Regions from separate parts of the Homo sapiens genome. Here region 2 is linked to region 1. Evidence: promoter capture Hi-C in 16 types of primary human blood cells and fetal thymus (Javierre and others, 2016). All regions are on one chromosome and are shown on one strand. The core of a region is centred on a gene start or on the middle of the fragment in contact, and the rest is flanking DNA. Distances in the headings are between cores, read along the strand shown.

Region 1 (5,101 bases), core at 1,703-4,202:
AAGTAATAAACAGGTCTCATAATTTAGAATGAAATCTGTTTTCTTTTTTTCCTTTCAAGGCCAGTCAACATACACTGGATATTCCAATATTTTTCTTAAATCAATATGCTACTTTTTACCCACATAACAACTTTACAGTCAGAAATATATATGCTAATGTACACTTAGCACTTCTTAATTGTTCTTAAAGCTAAATTTGAACAATAAATTAAATTTCTCAGTATATGTTATGTAATGTAGACACAGGCTATAAAAATGTTGACATTCGTTATATTCTCGTAATGCAATTTAGCCCTTTTAGTAATGACTATGCAAATAATCAGCCATGGGAAAGCCATTTTCCATCTAGTACAATTACCTACTATCACAGAAGTAATTATTATTATTGTCCTCCTTAACTGAAATTCTATAAAAACTCTTGAGATACTAAGATAGTTCCAAGGCCACCGTGAAAACTCTCCTCTTAACAGACTAATCTGGCAACGACAATTACCAGCGTTAAGGAGGGCAGTTGCAGATGAACATTAAACAAGAAATTATCCCCAGAAGGTTCATAAGTTCTAAACTTTAAATGGGGAAATACTGATGACTCCTAGTACATCCTCTTAACACCTTCAAGACACAACTTTTCACTCAGGCAAGGTCAACAGCTCTAAGCTGACTCAACCTCAATTCGTAGAAAACCATGATTCCAACCAGATCACTTTCACCCCTAAACAATATCTACTTTTAGCCAATGTCCCCACAGTACTGGTTACACATAAGGAAACTCAATCAAACCTTCTATTTTACTGTGCTTCAATTTTCAATTTCAGAAATTGTTCCACCATCTTGAAACAGACCAAGGCGCTTGGGTGATCCATTGGCCACATTTGCCGAAGTTCTTCACAAGATCTCTATCCAACTTCACCTTGTCTCTTAGCATAGAGATGAGGACGGCCACAGGGTAGTGAAGAGGGCAACATACACCATTCTTTCAAGGAGCTCTAAGGTCTCCCACCCACCCCACCTGAACCTGCTGGCCGGCAGTCCAGGCCTGGGCCTCACCAACTCCAGAATCATTCACAAGAACATGGTCACACAGGAGACCTGTGCTCCTTTCTCCATTCTTCTTCTCTAACGCCAGTCAGCAAACCCACCACCTGAAAAAGCTTCAACTGCCCACGAGGGCCTAGAGGAAAGAGCTTCTTAGGAATCACCCCCTGCAGTCTGTCGTGGGTGGATCACCCTACAATGTCTTATGCAAAAGGCTAATTCTACCCCTTCTGGGTGCTTATCTCAATGGAGCCCCAAAGCCTTAAGAACCAGATGGCGTTAACCAATTTATGTTCCGGGAAGTGCAGGTCCAGGCTAACCCATGCGGCTGGTTTCACGGAGGCCCAGAAGGCCCTCTGGTTGAAGATGGCTGGTCTCTTAACTTCTTTATCCTGAACCTGGTCTTGGCGGCCAACACCTCTGAGGCCATTCCCTCTGGGGAGTGGTGGCTGGCTGTTCCTTGTGTTGTCCACTTGTGGAAAACCCAAAGCAGTAACAGTTGTGTTCCTAAGCCCTTGCTCCCCAAAGACCATGGGTGTTCCTCCATTGTTTGAAAGATGCCAGACTAATGTCTTCCTTCGCCACTTTTGGGAAGACATGAGAGTATCCAACGCTGGCCACTACTCATTAGGACCTGGAGCCAGGTATCCACTGAGGGTGACGAGAGTACTGGGCGCTGGGCTGGCATCTGTGTCCTATGTCCCCAACACCTCAGACTTCCACGTTCTCCTCCCACCCAGGGCCCTCCGCAGCGCCCCCTTTCGCCCCCAGGGAGCACGACACCCGCAAGGGCCACCCCCACGCCCGAGCCCGGAGGGCGTCCGAGCTGGTGCGGGGGCAGCAGGTGGGGGGTGAGGGAGGTGGCCCGGGGACCCCGGGGAGCGGTTTGGCGGTTGTCCCCCCGAACCCCCACCCAGCCTCCCCCTTCGCAGCCCCCCGGGACCCCGCCTCGCCCCGGCCAGGCTCCGCTCCGATCGCCCGCCCCCCTCCTCCCCCGCGCCCCCGGCCCAGCCGGGCCGCGCAACCCCCGCCCCACACCCCCGCCGGCCGCGGCGCGCCCCCCCGCATTCCCAGCACGTCCGGCGCCGACTTTTACCTGTACTTTCTGTACTCGAGGCGGCTCGTCGGGCGAGAAACACCTCCCCGGGACCGCTACCTCCCCCGCCCCGGCTCCGCCCGGCTTCCTCCTTCCCCTCCAAGGCCGCAAAGTAGATGGAGTAAGAGAGTGTGTGTGCGAGAGAAAGAGAAAGAGGGAGCGGGCGCGGGCGCCGCGGGAGGCGGCGGGCGGCGGGCGGCGGGCGGGAGGCGCGCCCGGCCCCCGCCACCCTCCGGCCGCCGCCGCCGCCGCCGCGGGCTCGGCAACTCCGGATTGCGCCCGGCCCCGGCCCCGGCCCGGTCCCCGCCGCCCGCCGCCGCCGCCCGCCGCCGCCCGCTGACTGGGGCCGGCCCGCGCCCCCGCGTCCCCGTACCTCGTAAAGGTCCCCAGAAGCCATGCCAGGCTGCGGAACTTGGCTCGCCGGTGTGCGCGTCTGCTCGCTCGCGCCCTCCGTGCGTGTGCGCGCGGGGTCCGGTGTGCGCGTGTGTGTGCGCGCGTGTGTGTGCGAGTGTGTGTGGTGTGTTGAGTAAACTGTGTTTTTGCAGAATGACAGGCTTGGGGGCTGCCTATGCGCAGAATCAGAGCGGGCGGCGGCGGGGCTGGCGTAACCGGCAGCAGCGGCGGCGGCGGCGGCGGCGGCACGAGCGCGGGCAGCAGCGACGGCCGCGCAGCGCGCCCGGGAGGCACGGACGCGGCCCGAGCGCCGCGGCCCCCGCGACCCGGCGACCCGGCGGCGGTGGCTGCAGCCGGCAACGGCTCGCCCCGGCGCCGCCTGCAGGAAGCCGCCCGGCGCCCGCCGCCGGCCCGGACGCTGCTGCCACTGGGCGAGTCCCCGCCCCCCGGGAGCCCGGCCCGGCCCCCGGGGCGGGGAGGCGGGGGCTGCTGCCCGGCCGCGCCCCGGGGGACCGGTCCCAGAGTCGACTAGCGCTCGGGCCCGCCCCGCCACCCCGGGCCGGCTTCGGGAGCAGCTGGCGGGGCCCCCGGGGGGCGGCGGGCCAGGTGCCCGCCGGGTGCGCCCGATCTGGGGCCGCGAAGGGGCGGCCGGGGAGCCAGGTAGAGGGCTGCGGCTGCAGACCTCAGGGAAGGGGCCCCAGCCGAGCCCCGCCGGCCCGGGGTCCCCACCTACCTCCTCCACCCTCGAGGGGAGTGGACGCCGCCTGGGAGACCTGGCCCCTCGGGGCTGCGCGGCCCCTCCCTCCAGGCTGGGTTGTAAGATGTGGAGGCCACAGGGAGGAAGGATGAAATGGCCCATCCAGAGGCACCATGGGGATCCAGGACAGGCGTGGCCACCCCATAAACCCTGGAAAGTCTTTAGAGCCAGGGGTGGCCTTCCCTCAACAACCCCTCTCCCCGAATTTATTCACTCATCCCTTACTCAAACATTTACCAAAGTCAACCCAAGTGCACAGTGTCCCTGGACAGGCAAAACTGGGACCCTGCCCAGAGACAGTTTGAATCCGCAAGTGAGGAGTGTAATGGAGCACTCAGTTGTTCTAAAAGGTCATCCTGCGTGTGACAGGCTGCGGAGCTGGAGGAGCTAGAGAAGCTCTCCAAAACCCAAATCCGTTCCTAAGCCATCTCTCATGGATAAATGGTCACCCCTCTGCTTAAAGGGTTCTCCTTATAAATATTTATGTATATAGTTACTTCAGAACCTGCAAGGTCAGACTTCTGAAATTGGAGGGAAGATCTTCATCCCCACCCATGAAATGCCTGCCTGGCTCCAGATGTGATGTATCATTAACTCACATGCTCCCTGGATCATTTTCTACTTGGGAGGCTGTGGGCAGGTCACCGAACCCTGATGGGAGATGGTGATAGTCACCTAAGTGATTTAAATAGAATTAAGGAGAGGATCTACGTATACATGAAGTGACCTGTCCATCCCAGCAGAACTCAATAAAGGTGATTTGTATCTGAGTCTCAACCTGGACTGCCCTCATGGAGAGTGAGATGGCAGAGGGGCTCGATAAATTGTTTAATCCTGAGGTTGTCAAACTTTGAAAAGTCACCAAATTTTTTAATCCAAAAAAAAAAAAAAAAAAAAAAAACTCCATGGAACCTGAAGCATGTCTGGCTCATTCCAGGACACATGGATTTGCATTTGCTGTTCCCCCTGCCTAGAATGTCCTTCCACATTGAATCCATCTGGAACATTCTTGTTCTTCGTATAGGGGCTTGTTTATCTTTGTATCGCAAGCATCTTCCACTGTTCCTGAGAGAGAGTAGGTACACAGTGATTGTTTTTCGAACTATGCCAATATAACAAATTTTATACCAATTTCTAGTTAAAATCCCGCATGAAGATAAGGAAAAAATGGTGAGGATAAGGAATTAATAAATCAGAAAGCATATTTGGCTTAGAAACTGTTGAAATTGTTATAGAACTTCTCTCTTCATATTGATATTTTCCCGGTGGTCATGGTTTTAAATAATAACAGTAATAATAAGCAGTTCTCTATCTGTAGGTAGCTAAACAAATTTTAATGAGTCTTAATTTGTACTCACGAATAAATGCACCACCATAGCATGAGGATGTAATTTGGAAGAAGACAAGAAGGAAACTGGGCTTGGAAATAATATACTAAGCCAAATTTGAATATATAATCAGTAGTTTTACAAAAACACCAAAAGCTTGACTTGTACTGGCCAAGTACTCCCTGAGAATGTGAGTGCAGTTTGAAAAACCCTAGTCTAGACAACAGTTGTTTACAGAGTTCACAGAAGAGGATACTTAGTGTGGATGACCATGCTCAGGAAATGTTTTAGGACTGAAATGGATCTTGAAGACTCATAGAAAAGGAAGGACAGTGTTTTCCGTGAGGAGAAGAAGTCAGAGTAGATGGTAAGCAATTCTGCTATGGGAAGGGTATGAGAAGATTGGAGGACTGGTTTATGGAGGTCACAGGACCCTGGATGGTGAATGTGGGTCAGTTCGGAGATAGTCTTGAAAGCCAAGCTAAGAAGTTT
Region 2 (5,101 bases), core at 1,414-3,913, 290 kb before region 1:
TGGATGAGGCCCACCCACATTGGGGCAACCTGCTTTACTCAGTCTATCAATGTAAATGTTCAACTCATCCAAAAACACCCTCCCGGAAGCATCCAGAATAATGCTGACCAAATGTCAAACCCCGTGGCCCAATTAAGTTGACACATACAATTAACCATCACAAATGGATTCATTCATGCAGAGGAAGACCATGCAGCCATTTTTTTAATGCAATAAATGCATATATTCTGATCCAGGAGAATGTCCACAATGTGTTATCTGTTTAAAACAAATGTCAACTTGCAGAAGAGTATGTATACTATGGTCCCACACGCATAAAAGAGAAAGTAAACTATATGAAACAACATATACATATGCACTTTTAAAGAATGTGTGTATAAACACAGAAAAATTCTAGAAGGATACACAGCAGACTCAGTGGTTTTCTATCCCCTCCTCCTCCCACACAGAGTACGGGGTATGTGTGCCTTACTGGAGACTTTCGTTTTTTATGTAAATCACTGAAATGTGCTAGGTGCTTGCTAAATGCTCAGCACCAGGCTAGCAAGCTACATGCACACTGTCAATTAATACGCATCACAATCCCATAAAAATGCTTCCTCTGTCTTACAGGGGACACAGAACTAAGGCCTAGGGAGGGTGAATAACTGTCTCAAGTTCACTAGCTTAGGATACCACGGAGCCACTCCTCCATGACAGGTCTGTCTGACCCATGACAGAGTACTGCCCATAATGTACTGTCTCTACAAAGAGACAGTTTTCATGTTAAAAATAAATATGTTCATTATATATTTTATTCTTTAACATAGAATATATATGTATGTATATATGTTTATAGTTGATGTACCTATATTACCCCTATTTTTTTTTAAGATACATTTTCTTTTTTTTTTTTTTTTTTTTTTAGAGTCAGAGTCTCATTCTGTCACCCAGGCTGGAGCACGGTGGCGCGATCTCGGCTCCCTGCAACCTCCGCCTCCTGAGCTCAAGCGATTCTCCTGCCTCAGCCTCCCGAGTAGCTGAGATTACAGGCATGCACCACAATGCCTGGCTAATTTTTGTATTTTTAGTAGAGATGGGGTTTCACCACATTGGCCAAGCTGGTCTCAAACTCCCATCCTCAGATGATCCACCCGCCTCAGCCTCCCAAAGTGCTGGGATTACAGGCGTGAGCCACTGCGCCCAGCCAAAAGAATACATTTTCATACTTACTCCAAAACAATAAAAATAGATAAGATCTGGGAAAGGAGAAAGCAAAAGCAAATTAACTCGGGGGAAATTTTTTTTAACTGTTTTATTTTGCGTCTCCCCAGAAGCAGAGCCTAAGTACAAGGACTTAGATGCATGATTTGCTTGTTTGGGAGATGATCCAGAGAAGGAGGAAAAGCCGAGATAAGGAAACACACAGGCTCACTGCTGCAGACACCAGGGTTTGATTCTTCTGGGATCTCTGAACAGTAGGTAAAGGAGGAAAAGCTGGGTACTTTTCCACTGGCTTCCATCCCGCCTTTGTGAAGGGTTAGCCCCAGGGGGGTTAACTCCCCAGGAGAGAAAGCTTGATGTGGGATTCTGTCATTTGAGGTGTGTCTCACCTGAAGTTGAAAGAGAATTAGATCAAGGAGATGCAAGACAAGGAGCCAAAGAACTCTGTTACATATACCACTTAAAAAATCACCTGAAGGATCGCTTGAACCCAGGAGTTCAAGGCTGCAGTGAGCCGTGATTTTGCCACTACACTCCAGCCTGGGCAACAGAGTGAGACCCTGTCTTAAAAGAAAAAGAAAAGAAAAAAAGGCAAAAGAAAATCACCTGAAAGGGGATCTATAGATCACTTTTGTTTTTGTTTTTCTAAGCAGTCTTTTTTCTAAGAAAAAAATACAGAAAGTAGCACAGAGTATTCGTGTGAGCCAACCCTGACGGGTAACCCGTTGAAGTACATTTCCGAATGAACGCTGCTGGGAGAGAGGGGCACACAGCCAGCAGATAAGGTTGCAGGGGGATGAAGCCATAACACAGAGCATAGCTTTTTCTTTGTGGGGAGGCCTTTCAGATGCTGGTGATGAACCATGCAAGCTCCATTGCTCTGAAGTCAGGCTCACAGAAAGGAACAAACGGCAGGGAGAGGTTTACATCAAATTGCATCTGAACTTTCAACTACAGTCCTCCTAACAGCTGCCTTGGGTAAGAATCCTGGCAAGTGCGTTTAAATTTTTATTCATGTGCAGACAGGAGAGGAGGTGAGGAAACAATTCTGAGATGAAGAACTCCAAATTATGAGAAGAATGCCAACTGTCAATAATCAAAATAATTCTTCTCTGCATAATCAACACCACATCGGCACAGCTGCTGACGAAGAAACAATAAACACCAAATAAAAATAAAAATTTCTCTCTCTTTTTTTCATGCTACCTTACAAGGAAAATCTGTACTGGAGCAAGGCTTTGTGGAATAGTTCCTAAAACATGCAATCAACATTTTCTTGAAATTACAGCTGGCATCCTGTATCTAGCAAACTTCTTTCTTTCCACATTCTTATTTATACCTTGTAGAGACAGCTTAACACTCAATTGCTAGTGCCATGTGTTTGACAATTGATTGTGTACTGCCCAATGGCACACCTGACTTTAGAGCATTGAGATTATATATGTACATGTGTGTCTCTGCTGTACATGATTAGGATCATGTGACACTGATCAGTTCCACAGGGTCATTAGGCAGGAGTCCCAAACTTGCTCTTTATTTCATAGGATGACATCAATCCTAGTTTGAGGAGCAGCACAATCTCAGGTTTCTGAATTTAACTTCACAGGGTCCAGAGTCATTAGAGTGTAACATATTGGCTCTGGACTCAGACAGCTGGGTTGGAATTACACACCACCATTCACTATCACATGACTTCAGAATGTCACTTGACCTCCGGAGGTCTCAATGTATTCATCTGTAGAATGGGAATAAGAATACTCCCTCAGATGTTTGTTGTAGGAATTGTAAAGTAATTTGTGGAATATGTTCACACAAGGCATGGCTCACAGTGAGCACATGGCCAGTGTTAACTATTATAACTGCTCTGGGGTTGAGGAACAGTTCATCCCTCTGTCCTGAAATTCCTTCTATAACATAGTAATGGCCTACACTCCCTTTGACTTAGAAGGATTTCTACTTTCTCCCTATTTACTATAACTTGGCTATTCATTTGATTGTGAATTGCCCAAAGAACTATTAATGTCTGGATTCCGTAGGGGTTACACGTAGTGGTGCAAGATGTTAAGGGTGCCCTAGGGAAATGAACACAAGTCTCCCACATCAAAGGGTGAAGATGCACTAGCTAGTTGATTTAGCTCCTTTTCGGAACATATTCCCTTCATGTGCGTGGCTATAGTGTTGTGTGGGTGGCGCTAAAACTTGGAGATGATAGAGAACTATTCCTTCAAGGAAGAGATTCTCTTGAACTCTATTGGCGTTGGTCAAAAATGAACCCTTGTGAGACTGGCCGCCAAGGATCACATCGCAGAGGTAGTGCTATGTGTTTCTTCTTTTGGGGTACACAAAAAACTACATTTCCCAGATTCCCTTGGAGTTAGATTAGAACCATGTGGCCAATAGGATGTAAGTAAGAGAGACACTTTTGGGGCTTGTCTTAAAAATATCTAAAAATATTTCATCATGTCTTTGATGACCTTTCTTGTTATTCAGCACTCTAGACAGAGGGAAGAGAAAATGAAAAGGTCTTGAGACAGAAACAAGGTGATGTGTTAGAAGCCTACCCAGAACTAAGCTTAAGGCCTCAAATATATATCTCAAAAAGGAGTGAGTTGAGAGAGGTGGGCAAGGGGTAACCCAGTTCATGAATTAATATATAAACACTATATTCATAGGACAGCACCTCAGCCTCTCATTCACAGCCCATTTGTTATTCTAACAAGTTTCATTATCTGGCTTCCAGATCCAGAACAAATTAGAGACGGCTAATTTGCTAATCTTTTTCTTTTCTGTTTTTTTGTTTGTTTGTTTGTTTGTTTTTCTGAGACAGAGTCTTGCTCTGTCGCCCAGGCTGGAATGTAGTGGCGCCATGTCAGCTCACTGCAACCTCCGCCTCCCAAGTTCAGCAATTCTCCTGCCTCAGCCTCCTGAGTAACTGGAATTACAGGCGCTCACCACCACTCCCAGCTAATTTTGATATTTTTAGTAGAGAGGGGTTTCACCATGTTGGCCAGACTGGTCTCGAACTCCTGACCTCAAGTGATTTGCCCGCCTGAGCCTCCCAAAGTGCTGGGATTACAGGCATGAGCCACCACGCCTGGCTGAAGCAGCTAATTTGATGGGAGCACAGAACTGCTACAAGTAGACATACCCTCATCGATAAGATGAGGGTATTCTATCCCACCCACAAGCCCTCCACTTCTCATAGGTTTACAAGGCCATTCCCTTCGACTTTCCTCATACGACATGATGTCAATTCCCTTTTCACTTTAGCTCTCTCCTTTAAACCTCCTCTCATTCTCTTAAATCCTCTCACATCAAAATTTAATGCAATGTTGCATGTGTGGCTCCGTCAACAATGATTGGAGCCTGTGTTTAAGAGGCAGCCACAAACTCAAACACTTCCAGGGACAGAAACGTAGAGTAACTGAATAAAGAAAGCAAGTACAAGACAACAAGAAATAGTGTGCCTCATGGTGAGTAAATGAAAAGAAAATGTCCAGCCAAAGCCATTCTTGCATCAATCACAAGAAGGGATCCAATATTCTGACCCAGATGATTTGTGTAAGTCAGTCGAGACATGGCATGTTTGCCCAATATGTCTGAAAGAAAGAATGGATATTTCATATTTTAGGGAAAAATGTCTTCATCCCTGCTGTTGGACACAAACAAAGAAGCATGAGCCGCCATCTTGCCACTGGCCACCACCTTACAACCCTGAGGAGCAGGACCCGCATTGAGAAAATCAGGATGGAAACATGGAAGGCACCTGCATCCTTGATGATGCCACGAATCGCTGAACCAACCAGTCCTAGAGCGTACCCTAACTTTAATTTCTGTATGAGAACAAATGTTTCATTGTTTAAGACAGTTTGAGTTGGGACTTCTCATCCCACCCTCA

The links. The method cuts DNA at HindIII sites, captures the fragments that hold promoters and counts their contacts. A CHiCAGO score of 5 or more calls a contact.
Region 2: a fragment that was not itself captured here is called in contact with the fragment with the promoter of CDYL2 in region 1 in 8 of 17 cell types (M2 macrophages, M0 macrophages, naive CD8 T cells and 5 more); the score reaches 8.4 in M2 macrophages.

Annotation. Positions count from the first base shown.
Region 1 is chr16:80,801,646-80,806,746 of GRCh38, forward strand. CDYL2 (chromodomain Y like 2) reads right to left here and starts at 2,953. Exons shown (of 7, transcript NM_152342.4): 1 at 2,505-2,953. The coding sequence starts at 2,528. RefSeq lists silencers at 1,734-1,883, 2,164-2,233, 2,844-3,153, 3,174-3,233. The HindIII fragment of the contact is 3,614 bases long and covers 1,150-4,763 here.
Region 2 is chr16:80,512,014-80,517,114 of GRCh38, forward strand. All of the region lies in intron 2 of DYNLRB2-AS1 (DYNLRB2 antisense RNA 1), which reads right to left. Among named protein-coding and RNA genes, the nearest start is that of DYNLRB2, 26 kb to the right of the region's middle. The HindIII fragment of the contact is 2,220 bases long and covers 1,554-3,773 here.